5 separate regions of the Homo sapiens genome follow, and all the other regions are linked to region 5. Evidence: promoter capture Hi-C in 16 types of primary human blood cells and fetal thymus (Javierre and others, 2016). All regions are on one chromosome and are shown on one strand. The core of a region is centred on a gene start or on the middle of the fragment in contact, and the rest is flanking DNA. Distances in the headings are between cores, read along the strand shown.

The links. Contacts are between HindIII fragments. The CHiCAGO score rates a contact against its expected background, and 5 or more counts as called.
Region 1: the fragment with the promoter of POM121L2 here is called in contact with the fragment with the promoter of OR2B2 in region 5 in 3 of 17 cell types (naive CD8 T cells, non-activated CD4 T cells and activated CD4 T cells); the score reaches 7.3 in naive CD8 T cells.
Region 2: a contact is called between a fragment that was not itself captured here and the fragment with the promoter of OR2B2 in region 5, in 1 of 17 cell types (monocytes). The highest score is 5.7, in monocytes.
Region 3: a contact is called between the fragment with the promoter of PRSS16 here and the fragment with the promoter of OR2B2 in region 5, in 14 of 17 cell types (total CD8 T cells, naive CD8 T cells, naive CD4 T cells and 11 more). The highest score is 14.1, in total CD8 T cells.
Region 4: a contact is called between a fragment that was not itself captured here and the fragment with the promoter of OR2B2 in region 5, in 1 of 17 cell types (total CD4 T cells). The highest score is 6.4, in total CD4 T cells.

Annotation. Positions count from the first base shown.
Region 1 is chr6:27,310,853-27,313,552 of GRCh38, forward strand. It overlaps POM121L2 (POM121 transmembrane nucleoporin like 2), which reads right to left and starts at 1,421. Exons shown (of 1, transcript NM_033482.4): 1 at 1-1,421. The coding sequence starts at 1,318. It overlaps LOC105375107, which reads left to right and starts at 1,317. Exons shown (of 3, transcript XM_011515048.2): 1 at 1,317-1,340; 2 at 1,471-1,762; 3 at 1,993-2,700. The coding sequence starts at 1,317. The coding sequence ends at 2,360. RefSeq lists a silencer at 1,478-1,772. The HindIII fragment of the contact is 14,547 bases long and covers 1-2,700 here.
Region 2 is chr6:27,120,316-27,123,015 of GRCh38, forward strand. No RefSeq gene overlaps it. Among named protein-coding and RNA genes, the nearest start is that of H2BC11, 11 kb to the right of the region's middle. The HindIII fragment of the contact is 5,298 bases long and covers 1-2,700 here.
Region 3 is chr6:27,246,397-27,249,096 of GRCh38, forward strand. PRSS16 (serine protease 16) reads left to right here and starts at 1,305. Exons shown (of 12, transcript NM_005865.4): 1 at 1,305-1,411; 2 at 1,486-1,652; 3 at 2,451-2,550. The coding sequence starts at 1,342. The HindIII fragment of the contact is 3,507 bases long and covers 1-2,700 here.
Region 4 is chr6:27,200,425-27,203,124 of GRCh38, forward strand. No RefSeq gene overlaps it. Among named protein-coding and RNA genes, the nearest start is that of TRV-CAC6-1, 4.4 kb to the right of the region's middle. The HindIII fragment of the contact is 4,360 bases long and covers 1-2,700 here.
Region 5 is chr6:27,910,950-27,913,649 of GRCh38, forward strand. OR2B2 (olfactory receptor family 2 subfamily B member 2) reads right to left here and starts at 1,447. Exons shown (of 1, transcript NM_033057.2): 1 at 236-1,447. The coding sequence starts at 1,370. The coding sequence ends at 297. The HindIII fragment of the contact is 2,345 bases long and covers 407-2,700 here.

The DNA of each region.
Region 1 (2,700 bases), core at 171-2,670, 600 kb before region 5:
GGCTGGGTGTCTTCAAAGGAGAATGGGCCACACTGGTTGCCTCTCCCGTGGACTGTGGAGAGGCCAGTGGACCTAGAGACTTCTGCATTTTTCTTAAGTTTTCCAACTGAGGATTTGCTCCCTGGGTTAGATCTGTTTCTGAAGAAGGCAGAGCAAGAGACAAGGAAGGCTGAATAGCAAGCCAAGTCTCAGGGAAAGGGTCTGTGTTGACCTCAGTTGTATCTTCTCCTGCGTTGTTGCTTACCTGTAGCTCAGCTTTCTTCCCCAAAGTCAAGTTCTCATCAGAGACTGCATAACCAAGCTGGGGAGGTGGGATCTCTGACACCAGGTTCTCAGGGCTAGACGGCAGCTGTGGAATCTTCTGGTTTTGCTGCCCAGAACTTTCAGATCCTCCTAGGGACTCAAAATCTGATACCAGTGGGACTGGAGAGGAAGGCCGATGACAACTTTTTTCCTTTTTTATTGGCCACTCTGGTGTCTCGAATGATACACTGGGAACACTTCTCTTCCAAGGGTCTGAGAAATTTCTGCAAGAGCTGTAAGAGCTGCCAATAGCATTCCTTTTGGAGCTGAGGGTGCCACCTCTGTATATGCTGGCCAAGGAGCTCATGGAGGAGCAATTGGGCCTCTTAGTCAAGCTGTGATCTGAGCCCCAGGAGTGGAGACTTCTCTTCAGCGGCCCAGGCCTGGGCACAAAAGAAGTGAGGGTTCCATTTTTCATCAGGGGCTTAAATGCCGATGGTCTGGTCTCTGGACTCCTTCTCTTACTGTCCAGACTCTCAGGGAATAGTGGTTCTTCCAACCTCCCTTTCCCTTTTCTGCACTCTCTGAGGGCCCTCAACACTGTCTCCTTTGAACATGGATCTGCGAGCTCCTCAGAGGGCGGGAGTCCTGCAAGGGCAATTACATCTTCAGGAGAAGTGGAAGGGGGCACTCTCTGGTCAGGAGGAGTGATCCTGATGGTCACTGGGCTCCAAATTGGCCTGGGATGTCGAAGAGACCAAATAGTCCGCTTTAAGTAACTTTCCCACCAGTCTGAAGGGAGAGGCCCCAGGGGGGAATTCTGGGACTTCTTCATGGGAAAGCGCCTCCAGGCCTCGTTGGCCAGCCACGTGGTTGGATTGGCAGGATCCAGGTTTGGCCGCCTCCTCACAGGTCTATACCGTGGGGCAGGGTGGGCGCGGTGGACGAACTGAACCCGATGAACTTGGTGAAGGGGCTGAGGTGGCCGGCGTTTCGTGGGCCTCTCGGGCAAGTCGGTGCGCACCTGGGCTGGGGACGAGGGCGAAAGTTCCAGTTTGCTCAGGAAACTGCCCATGAGGAGAGATGAGGCGCGGGCAGTGAGTTCAAGCACGGTTTTGGCTTCCGAGGTTTCGGACGTCTGCAGAATCGGACAGAGTCGAAGAGCGCAGTGTTCGGTTGACGGTTGGGATTCACGCGCTAGGAAAGCGCGAGTCTCAGGGTGCTTAGCACTCTCCAGGCCCGGCACCCGCGGGAACGGGGGACACGCGGGACTTCGGCAGTCCCAGTAACTTGCTTTGCTGTTCTGAGACCTCAGCGGGGCGGTCAGACCTCTGCTGTCTCCGCAGCGAGTTGCAGTACTTGGCGCGGGGAGAGGAACTCGAGAGGAAGCTCACTGCGCCTCGCCCCTGGCGTCGGCAGCGGCTGTCTGGGACCCTGTGGTCCGGATTCACCAAGTGGCGCAGAGCTGGAATCGAGTGGGTGCACAGTTTCCAGGCTCCGACTATTACTGGCCTCGAAGGTACAGGCTCAGGCGGCTCAGGGCCCCGGCGCAGATCTGTCGGCCCGCGGGATCCCCGGAGTCTGAGTGGGGAGCACTATCCGCACCCCGTAGAGTGAGTGCGGGCGGCTTTCGCAGGTGCTCAGGACTGGAGATCTGGACCGGTGGCTGTGCCGCCCGGATGGCATTTGTGGCACTAGCAGTCGGGAAAGCAGCTGATTGAGGATTTCCGCGTTTCTCTTTTTTTGCAGATCGTGACGCCGCCAGTAGGTGTCAGTCATTTGCCGCACAGCCACCTTTGAGATCCACCTGTGTCTCCCAGCGGCCGAATCCAGGTTTCCTTCCTATTCGCACTTGGAGAACTCATGCAGATTGCCGTCAGGAGTGGCCTCAGAGATCCGGAGTGGGCGAATGGGAAATCGCATCTTACGGCCCAGAACCTGAGCCCTCCACAAGCACTTGGCTCAGTCCCTTGCTCAGGCCACCTCCTGTTCTCTTCTGCTCTGTGAAAGACACTGTTAAGAGAATGAAAAGACACGCCACAGACTGGAGAAAATATTTGCATAATACGTATGTATCTGCTGAAGCACTGGTATACAAAATATACATAGAATGTTAAAACTCATAATAAGGTAAAAAATTAATGGGCAAAATATTTAAACAGAAACCCCGCCAAAGAAGATATGCAGATGGTAAACAGTATAAAAAGATGCCAAACATCATTGACATATGCTATATGTCAATATTTAGCTATATATAACTAAACATCAGTAAATACTTCTGATTGCAATTTAAACATCAGTAAGATACCATAATTGCAAATTAAACATCAGTAAGATATTACTACACACCATTCAATTGGCTAAAATTCAAAACACCACATGCTAAGGAGGAGGTGGAGTAACAGGTACTCTCATTCATTACTGATGAGAATGCAAAATGGTACAGCCACTTTGGAG
Region 2 (2,700 bases), core at 58-2,557, 790 kb before region 5:
CATATTACTGAATTTGAATTTTCTAAAATTTTGTTTAGAACCTTTGTATCTCTGTTCATGAAGGATATTGGTCAATAAGTTTCTTTGTTTATATTTGTCCAGTTCTAGTATCAAGATGATGTTGCCCTATGGAACGAATTAAGTTAACCAATATTTTAAGAAGCCAGATAGTAAATATTTTAGGCTGTGCAGACAATAAGGTCTCTGTCACAACAACTCAACTTTGCTGTTCTGGTGGGAAAGTAGACATAGATAATACACAAATAAGTGAATGTGGTTGTGTTCCAATAACACTTTTTTTGAAAATCAGGTGGTGGGTCATATTTGGTCTGTGGGCCATAGTTTGTTGACCTCTGAGTTAGGAAGTATTTCTTCCTGATTCTAACACTTCTATGAAAATGAAAAGCCAATTATAAAGAAGAACACAGTTGGAGAACTTACACTATAAGTTGCCAACCCCTATCTTAAACTATGGTAATGAGAATGATTGCTATTGAGCCAGAAACATGTGTGTAGTCACCTGATTCATGAGAAAGGTAACACTGCAGTGCAAGGGTTGTCTTTTCAACAAATTACGTTAGTTAGGTCAATGATATGTCCATATGGAAAAGTCCATATGGAAAAAATTGTTACAAATCGATAAGTACAAATAATTTAAAAATGGGCAAAGACATGAACATTCTCTTCCACTAAATGACATTCAATGTATATGAAGCATATGAATAGGTACACAATATTATGACTCATCAGGAAACTGAAAATGAAAGCAACAGTGAGATATCACTAACACATCCTATTCAGAAAGGCAAAACTTAAAGCCTAACAAGATAAAGGCAAAAATTTGAAGCAATTAAAATCATCTTATATTATAGGAGTTTGAATTGGTTTATACATTTTAGAAAAATATTTGTCAGTGTTTACTAAACCTAAATATATGGTTACCTTAAAAACTGTTAATTCCATTCCTATTATATGCTCAAAAGAAATGAGCACAGGCTGGGCGCAGTAGCTTATGCCTGTAATCCCAGCACTTTGGGAGGCCGAGGCGGGTGGATCACAAGGTCAGGAGATCAAGACAATCCTGGCTAACATAGTGAAACCCTATCTCTACTAAAAATACAAAAAATTAACCGGGCATGGTGGCACCCACCTGCAGTCCCAGCTACTCGGGAGGCTGAGGCAGGAGAATCACTTGAACCTGTGAGGCGGAGGTTGCAGTAAGCCGAGATTGTGCCACTGCACTCCAGCCTGGATGACAAACTGAGAATCCGTCTCAACAAAAGAAATGGGCACATATGTACACCAAAAAACATACACAAAAATATTCATAAAACTTATATTCATAATAGGGAAAAAGATAAGCTAAAAGCAACTGAAAAGTAACCAAGGCCATTACATTTTAAATTATTAACATTTCCTGAAATTGTCTTCTAAAACAATGTCTTCTTTTAATTCTTAAAAGTACAGATGAACACTTTAGTCCTAATGACATCATCATTTACAGAACATGGTGAGTTAACCAAATATTTTACCATGTATGTATAAATCTCAATAAAACAAAGAAGTTTTAGAATTCAAATCTATAAACTTTAAAGTATTGACTTTGTAACATGATTAATTTAAAAGTAAATTAAAATAAATGAGTTTGTGCCTGGCATCGTGGCTCACGTCTATATTCCCAGCATTTGGGAGGCTGAGATGGGCAGATCACCTGAGTTTGAGTTCGAAACCAGCCTCAACAACATGGAAAAACCCTGTCTTTACCAAAAAAAAAAAAAAAAAGAAAAAAAAATTGGCCAGGTATAGTCCCAGGTACTTGGGAGGCTGAGGTGGGAGGATCACTTGAGCCTGGGAGGCAGAGATTTCAGTGAGCCAAGAATGCATCATTGCACTCCAGCCTGAGCAACAGAGCCAGACCCTGCCTCAAAAAGAAAATATATATGTATATTAGTTTGATAAACTCCAATATAACTTTTTTACATAAAATTGATTTTTTAAGTTTATAAATATAAATATTTAAATATGATATTTAAATCCAATTTTGCTGGAAAGCCTAAACACAATGTGGAAGCTATTGACTTGTCCCATTATCAATCTTACATACTATTATAAAATAAATGATATACCATTATAGCTTCTCCCAACTATCCAAATGCTTATGGGTTAGGTGTGAAACCTACAAGATGAAGCAAATGAGGCTTTATCTAGGGGTGACAGTTTTATGGAAAGAAATGAGTATCAGGGAAGGCTACACAATGCAAAAACAAAATTCTGTGAGGACTTGAACCCAAGGCATTTTGCTTACCAGACAAGTAAGTTGAATGACAAAGCAACAATTCCCTGTCATAAAAGTTAATTTATTTGCTATTACAGTATAGACATTTTAAAACACACCAGAAGAATTTTAGAGTTTGAAAATGACAAGTTGCATTTTGTTTTGAGCAGGAAACATATCAAGACAAACTTCCTTCATACTAGACAGTATTGTAATCCCAGCGACTCAGGAGGCCCAAGCAGGAGGACCACTTCAGGCCAGGAATTTGAGATTAGCCTAGGAAACATAGCGAGACCTCGTCTCTAAGAAAATAAATTAGTCATTGTAGTAGCACACACCTGTAGTTCTAGCTACTTGGAAGGCTGAGGTAGGAGGATGACTTGAGCCCAGGAGTTTGAGGCTGCAGTGAACCATGATCACGCCAC
Region 3 (2,700 bases), core at 55-2,554, 660 kb before region 5:
AGGAAAAGCATCCTAAGGAGAGCAAAAATTCTAAGGAAGGAGTGAGTCTTGTGAAATATGAAATAGTCCAATGCAGTTGGAGCAGTGAACCCAGGAGGGGTAGGAGATGAAATCATGACAGTATATACAACAGGGGGCCAGGTCATACAGAGTTTTAAAAACTGTTTTCAAAACTTTAGATTTACTTTGAGTAAGATGGGGCATCAGGGAAGTGTTCTAAACCAGGGAGTGAATGATTGTGAATGATTGGGCTAATATTTAATTCTGTCTCTCTGTCTGCTGAGTGTAGAATAAATCATGAGGCAGAAACAGGGTGACCAGCTAAAAGCCTTCCATGATATCCCAAGTCAGAGATGATGGTGGCTCAGCAGTGGTAGCACTGAAGGTAGTGAGAAGTCATCAGATTCTGGATATATTTTTTAAATTTATGGGAATAACTTTTTAAATGTACAATATTTCTCATAGTGATAAGTCCCATGAAAAAGAATTAGGAATAAAGTTTGAAAAGGAATAGAAGAGGGCCATAGGTTTGGCAATTTTTAAAAAGCTGACCATGGAAGACCTTTCTGAATGAATGACCTTTGAATAAAGATCCAGTTGAAGTGAGGGAGCAAACCACGTGGGTATATAGGGAAATCACAATCCATAGGGTGGGAACAACAAGAATAAGAACCCTAAGGCAGAAGCAAGCCTGGTATGTTCAAAGAACTGTAAGGAGTCTATGGACAGTGTGAGATTGTGGGTCAGAGAAGCTCGGGACAGTGAAGCAGAGCAGAAAGTGAGGGGGCTGGAAAATAGACAAGGTGAGATTGGGGGACAAAGAGATGAGTATGGAGAGAAAGACTGAAAAAGAGATGGGGGACTGAGAAAAAAGAGACGGAAAGACTGAGTGTGGGAACAACTGAGGGGTACTGAAGATATGCTGAGGGGCAGAAAGAAAAGACTGAGAATAAGTGGGCAACTGGGGTTCCAGAGGAGGTGCTGAGGTGGGGAGAGACAGAGGTTGAAGGACAATAAGGCATGCAAAGGAGGAATCTGAGATAAAGAGAAGGTAGACCGAAGAGCGGAGAGGAGGAGACTGAGACAGCGAGGGCTACTGAGAGCTGAGGGAAGAACAGACTGAGAGGCCCAGAGAGAAGAAACTGGGAGTTCCGATGCTGCATCAGCAGCCTCTGTGTACAGACTCTGGCGTCCCTGCCCCGCTTTAGCAGTTCCTACAGACGCTTGACCTGCCAGGAAAGGAAAGAAACCTGAGCCTCTGCTGAAAGGTGATGGATTTAAGGCCCGGCTGCTGAGGATAAGATAAAGGTCCTCCTGGGGGAGAACAGAGTCCCGAACACCATGGCCGTCTGGCTTGCCCAGTGGCTGGGCCCTCTGCTCTTGGTTTCCCTCTGGGGACTCTTGGCTCCAGGTAAGAGGAGGCTGAGGGTCAAGCAGGGCATCCTAAGGGGGCCAGCCTGACTTCCTTCCCTCCATGTCCCACAGCCTCCCTTCTTAGGCGCCTGGGTGAGCACATTCAGCAGTTTCAGGAGAGCTCTGCCCAGGGCCTGGGCCTGAGCCTGGGGCCAGGTGCTGCAGCCCTCCCAAAAGTGGGGTGGCTGGAGCAACTGCTGGACCCCTTCAACGTGTCCGACAGACGATCCTTCCTACAGGTGAGGCCGGGAGACGGGGAGTCCACTAACCATCCTGCCCTCTCCTCAGTCTCCCTCATCTCTTCCTCAGTCTGCACTTTTTTCTCTCTCCACACCTCAGTTCTCCCCATCCCTCTGCTTGAATCTCATGTTATGCTTGCTGTCAGTATCCCTTTTCCTGCCCTTTGTAGATTTGGCCTTACTCTCTCCTCTCCTCGGGGTCCCACTCGTTTTGTCCCTCAGATCTTGCCCTTCACCATTTCTTTCTCTCTGTCATTCACATTCACTGCTCCTCCCTACCCCCTTGTCCCTGTCCAGACTGGACACAAAACCTACCACCAGGTCTCAGTAGGTAGCAGAAATTTGAACCAGCTTTGGAATCAGACCTAGCTCACAACAGGCACTCAAAGATATCTATCGAAAGAAGGAACAAATTCGCCATTTTTCAGTGCTTCCTCTGTATTTAGTCTCCAAATATCATCCCACTTGGATCTTATTCCTAAATCCATCTGCATTTATTTCTTATTTTACAATTATTACTTCAAGAAATAGCAAGTTCCTTCAATGTGAGAGCCACTCCCTCAGTTCTGGGGATATAAGAGTGAAAAACCAGGTCAAAAATTTGCTTTTGTATATTTTGCATTCTAGATGAGGAGATGAACAGGGGAAAAGTGAGCAAGTAAATAAACAAGCTCATTTCAGACACTGTTAAGTACATAAGGAAAGATCCATTAGGAAGAGAGACTGGAACAAATGAGGAATTGAGAATAAGTCAGGACTCTCACAGTGCCATTTCTTCTTCCCCATCCCACCTCTCAGCGTTACTGGGTGAATGACCAACATTGGGTTGGCCAGGATGGACCCATATTCCTGCATCTAGGGGGTGAGGGCAGCCTTGGGCCTGGCTCAGTGATGAGAGGTAAGAGGCAATGTTGGGGGAAAGGAGTTGGGATGCTGGTGGGGACCAGGAAGGGGAGCTGCATATTGCAATGCTGTGAGACCTGAGGAGTGAAAGGGCTTAAACTCAACTTGCATCTCACCTCCCCACCCCCCACCCATACACTCTTCA
Region 4 (2,700 bases), core at 1-2,500, 710 kb before region 5:
AATTTTTCTCCTCATCAATTAATATAATAATGTGATTTTCTTCCTTTGGTGTGACTATGGTACATTAATTACGTTGACTAATTTTCAAATGTTGAACAACCCTAGCATTCTTTTTTTTTTTTTTTTTTAGACGGAGTCTTGCTCTGTCATCCAGGCTGGAGTTCAAAGGCGAGATCTTTGCTCACTGCAACCTCAGCTTCCCAGGTTGAAGTGATTCTCGTACCTCAGCCTCCAGAGTAGCTGGAATTACAGGCACATGCCACCATGCCCGGCTAATGTTTTGCATTTTTAGTAGAAACAGGGTTTCCCAGCGTGGGCCAGGCTGGTCATAGAACTCCTGACCTCAAGTTATACTCCTGCCTTGGCCTCCCAGACCTCTGAAAGTGCTGGGATTACAAGTGTGAGCAACAACGCCTGGCCATGAACCACCCCTGCATTCTACTTGGTGATTATCTTGGTTTGCTAGGGCTACCATAGATGGGTGGACTTAAACAATGGAAATGTATTTTCTCGCAGCTGAGCCTAGAAATCCAAGAGCAAGGTGTCAGCCGGTTTGATTCCTTTTGAGGTAGCTCTCCTTGACTTGCAGAAGGCTGCCTTCTCGTTGTGTCCTCCCATGATTAACCACTCAGTCTGCGTGTTGCCTGTGTCCTAATCTCTTTTTTTTTTTGGAGACCGAGTGTCGCTCTGTCGCCCAGGCTGGAGTGCAGTGGTGCAATCTCGGCTCACTGCAACCTCTGCTTCCCGCTCAGCCTCCTACCTCCTGTCTCAGCCTCTCGAGTAGCTGGGATTACAGGCGTGTGCTAATTTTGTCAGGCCTGGCTGAATCTTGTATTTTTTTTTTAAAGTAAAGACAGAGTTTCGCCATTTTGGCCAGGCTGGTCTCGAACTACTGACCTCAGGTAGTCTGCCCGCCTCGGCCTTCCAAAGCGCTAGGATTACAGGCATGAGCCACTGCGCCCGGCCCCTAATCTCTTCTTATAAAGACACCAGTAATATTGTATTAGAGCTCATCCATATTCCCTCATTTTACTTTAATAACTTCTTTAAAGATCTTATCTCCACATATAGTCACATTCTAAGGAACTGGGAGTTAGGACTTCAGAATATACATTTTGGGAGAACACAATTCAGCCAATAACAGTCATAGTGTATAATTCTTTTTCTCTATTACTGTATTCTATTTGATAATATTGTGTTAAAAATTGTTGTATCTGTGTTGATGAGTTGTATTGGTCTGCAGTTTTCTTTTTTGTGCTGTCTTTGTCAGCCTTTATTTATTTATTTATTTTTTTGAGACGGAGTCTCTCTCTGTCACTCAGGCTGGAGTGCAGTGGCGCGATCTTGGCTCGCTGCAAGCTCCGCCTCCTGGGTTCACGCCATTCTCCTACCTCAGCCTCCCAAGTAGCTGGGACTACAGGCGCCCACCACCAAGCCCGGCTAATTTTTTTGTATTTTTATTAGAGAAGGGGTTTCACCATGTTAGCCAGAATGGTCTCCATCTCCTGACCTCGTGATCCGGCCGCCTCGGCCTCCCAAAGTGCTCGGATTACAGGCGTGACCCACCGCGCCTGGCCTATTTTTATTTTTTTGAGACAGAGTTTCGCTCGTGTTGCCCAGGCTGGAGTGCAATGGAAAGATCTCGGCTTGCTGCAACCTCCATTTCCTGGGTTCAAGCGATTCTCCTGCTCAGCCTCCCGAGGAGCTGGGATTAAAGGTGTCTGCCACCATGCCCAGCTAATTTTTGTATATTTAGCAGAGACGGGGTTTATCCATGTTGGCCAGGCTGGTCTCGAACTCCTAACCGCAGGTTATCAGCCCGCCTCGCCCTCCCAGAGTGCTGGCATTACAGGCGCGAGCCACCTAGCCTGGCCTTAAACAAGTTCTTATAAAAAGAGAGAGGAAAAGTCTCAGGATTCATACTCTTGGGATGTAAATAAATGTCTCCAGAGTGGAAGATAAGATAAGCATCTCCGTGTTTATAAGCCTTAAAATGTCTCCATGGTTCCAGGAGAGAGAAATTGTATTATCCTTCAAATGAGATAACACTTTTGAAATGTGAGAAGCAAATTGGTCTAGGGAAACCAGAACATTCACTAATGTGTCAATTTCCCTTGCCCAGAAAGCCAAACCATGCAGAACATGAAAATATTCACTTCCTGACAACACCTTTCAAAAAGAGAGATTTAAGGTAGTCTGATGTCTCATTCTATTTTCACTAATTCTTTAAATATGAAGACTTTTTCTTTTTTTCTTTTCTTCCTTTTTTTTTTTTTTTTTTTTTTCCAGATAGGGTCTTATTCTGTCACCCAGGCTGGAGTGCAGTGGAGTGATCTTGGCTCACTGCAACCTCCATCTCCCAGGTTTAAGTGCTCTTTCCTCCTCAGCCTCCCAAGTAGCTGGCACTACAGGAGTGCTCCACCACACTCAGCTAATTTTTTGTAGAGATAGGGTTTCACCATGTGGCCCAGGCTGGTGTTAAACTCCTGAGCTCAAACGATCTGCCGGCCTCGACTTCCAAAGCATGCTGGGATTATAGGTGTAAGCCACCATGCCCAGCCTTGAGGACATATTTTCAAATGTATTTTACATTTTACATTTGCCCAGTTTTCCAATTTTTAGGCAAAACATTTATCAAACAAAAGATGGCATCTTAAGCAGTTTTTTCTTTCTTATTTTATTGGTCCTTAAGGCTGATTA
Region 5 (2,700 bases), core at 197-2,696:
AGAATTCCTTTTTTTTTTATTAACACCCTTGCAAGCAACCTCTCAAAAGCTCCCTTTACATCTTTGTTTCTATGTGTGTGTGTGTATGTATGTATGTGTGTGTGCGTGTGTGTATTACTGAAGAGATGATTTCTGGATCAGAAAGGTCTAGTTTACACTGAATTGTACAAACATTGATGTAAAGTGTGACAACCCTTGAAAATGTTGTGATTACAGTTTTTGGTGCATTGGAAGGCCAATTCTGGGGGCTTGTTCAATGAAAATGTTTAGGCAACAGAAACAAATATAGCTTTTTGTCAAGGAAATTTTCTTTGAGGGAGATTACAATAGTTTTCTATAGTAATGACAAAAATAGGACAACTTGCGGAGAAGTTAGTAAGGTAAGTAAGCACTGTGTCTTTAGCAAAGCTTATCATTTGCATATTTCTTATTTCTTGATTAAGAAGACTCTTTGCAACCAACCTTTTAAAGGCTTCCTTTACCTCTTTGTTCCTAAGTGTATATATAAGGGGATTCAGCATGGGTGCAATGATTCCACAGAAGAGAGAAACCATCTTTCCCCGGTCTTTGGAGCTGGGTGAAGGTGGTTGCAGGTACATGGAGATAGCTGTACCATAAAAAAGTGACACCACAATTAGATGGGAGCCACATGTCCCAAATGCCTTTCGTTGACCTTCAGCAGACTGGATTCTCAACACTGCTTGGACAATAAAAGCATACGATATAAGGATGAGTGTCACGGGTATTAGAAGGAATAGCACACTGATGAAGAATAGTTCAGCCTCATTTGCTGTTGTGTCAACACAGGACAACTTGAGCAGAGCAGGGACTTCACAGAAGAAGTGATCCACTTCTTTGTGACCACACAGTGGCATCTTAAGTGTCCAGGTGGACTGTAATACTGAATTGCTAAAGCCACTAATCCAGGATGCAGCTGCCAACTGGAAGCAGAGCCTCTGGTGCATGATAATTGAGTAATGGAGAGGCCGACAAATAGCTACAAACCTATCAAAGCACATGACGGCCAGGAGAAGACATTCTGTGGAACCCAAGGCCAGGAAAATGAAAAGCTGGGCCACACAGCCACCATAACTGATTACTTTCCTGGTGTTGCATATGTTTACCAGCATTTGTGGAACTGTACTTGTGGTATAGCAAAGGTCCAGGAGTGAGAGATTGCTAAGAAAAAAGTACATAGGGGTGTGGAGTTTGAAATCCACATGTGACACAAGAATTATTGTCAGATTGCCAAAGATTGTCAAGATATAGGAAAACAGAAACATCACAAAGGGTGGAATCTCTAGCCATGGTTGATCTGAGAAAACTAACAGAATGAACTCCTGTGGGACACTCTTATTTACCCAATTCATGTTAAATGGTTCAACTCTTCGTTCTCTGAAATATAAGAAGTCAGGAAGTTAACAACACACTTCCTGATTTTGTCAGCTATAATCATTTTGCTATCAATTTACATAAAATTACAGACTGATCCAATTAATAATGTGAAAAAAGTATTGATAAAAATATAAATATTTATCCATCCAAGTATTTAAAAAGTGTTTATATATCTGTAACAGCATATTAGCAAATTGAATCGAATTTCAAGAATCTTTTTTTTTTTTTTTTTTTTTTTTTTTGAGGCAGAGTTTCACTCTTTTGCCCAGGCTGGAGTGCAATGGCGCCATCTCGGCTCACCGCAACCTCCGCCTCCCAGGTTCAAGCAATTCTCCTGCCTCAGCCTCCCCAGTAGGTGGGATCACAGGCATGTGCCACCACCCCGACTAATTTTGTATTTTTAGTAGCGATGGGGTTTCTCCACGTTGGTCAGGTTGGTCTCAAACCCCAACCTCAGGTGATCTGCCCACCTCAGCCTCCCAAAGTGCTGGGATTACAGGCGTGAGCCACTGTGCCCAGCCTAATTTCAAAAATCTTAAGCCATATTTTCAGTTTCCAAATTCACATAATGTATCCTTTGATATTTTACTGTTTGTAAATGTATTTTTCTCATTCTTCCTACCTAGATATCTACTGTGAGGTAGATGTAGATACAGTTTCCTGTCATTTGAATTCATTCTAATTTCTCTTCAAGGCCAGCGAGATTCCCTGATTGTAGAAATCAGTTAACATTAGTTAAAGCCACCTCCCATTATTCCCCTTCCCTCAAAAAAGCCATGTAGACAGTATCTAGTAAGTTATCAGACACAATTTAAGGAGACATATCCTTTTCGTTCTAGAAGCTCATAGAATTTGTATAGATTCCTTAGTAATATGATATTTGAAGGTGACAGGCTGGTCTCATATCCCTACCCTCTCTAATTAGTTACATTCATTATATTGGAATGCTTCTAACCCTTTGATCTCCACAATTCTCATTTGTAAAATGAAGATGATACAGTGGTTCCCCCTTTATCCATGGGGGATACATTCCAAGACCACCAGTGGATAGAAACCTGAAACTGTGGGTAGTACCAAACCCTATATATACTATGTTTTTTAATACATACACAACTATAACGTTTAATTTATAAATTAGGCACAGTAAGAGATTAAGAACAATAATTAATAAAATGCAGCAAGTATAACAGCTCCAGACCCCCATTTATTGTAATACATGTTATGTGAATGTGGTGTCCCTCTCTTTTTTTCTCTTCAAAACACCTTATTCTAGTGTACTCACCCCTCTGTGTTCTGACGATCTGA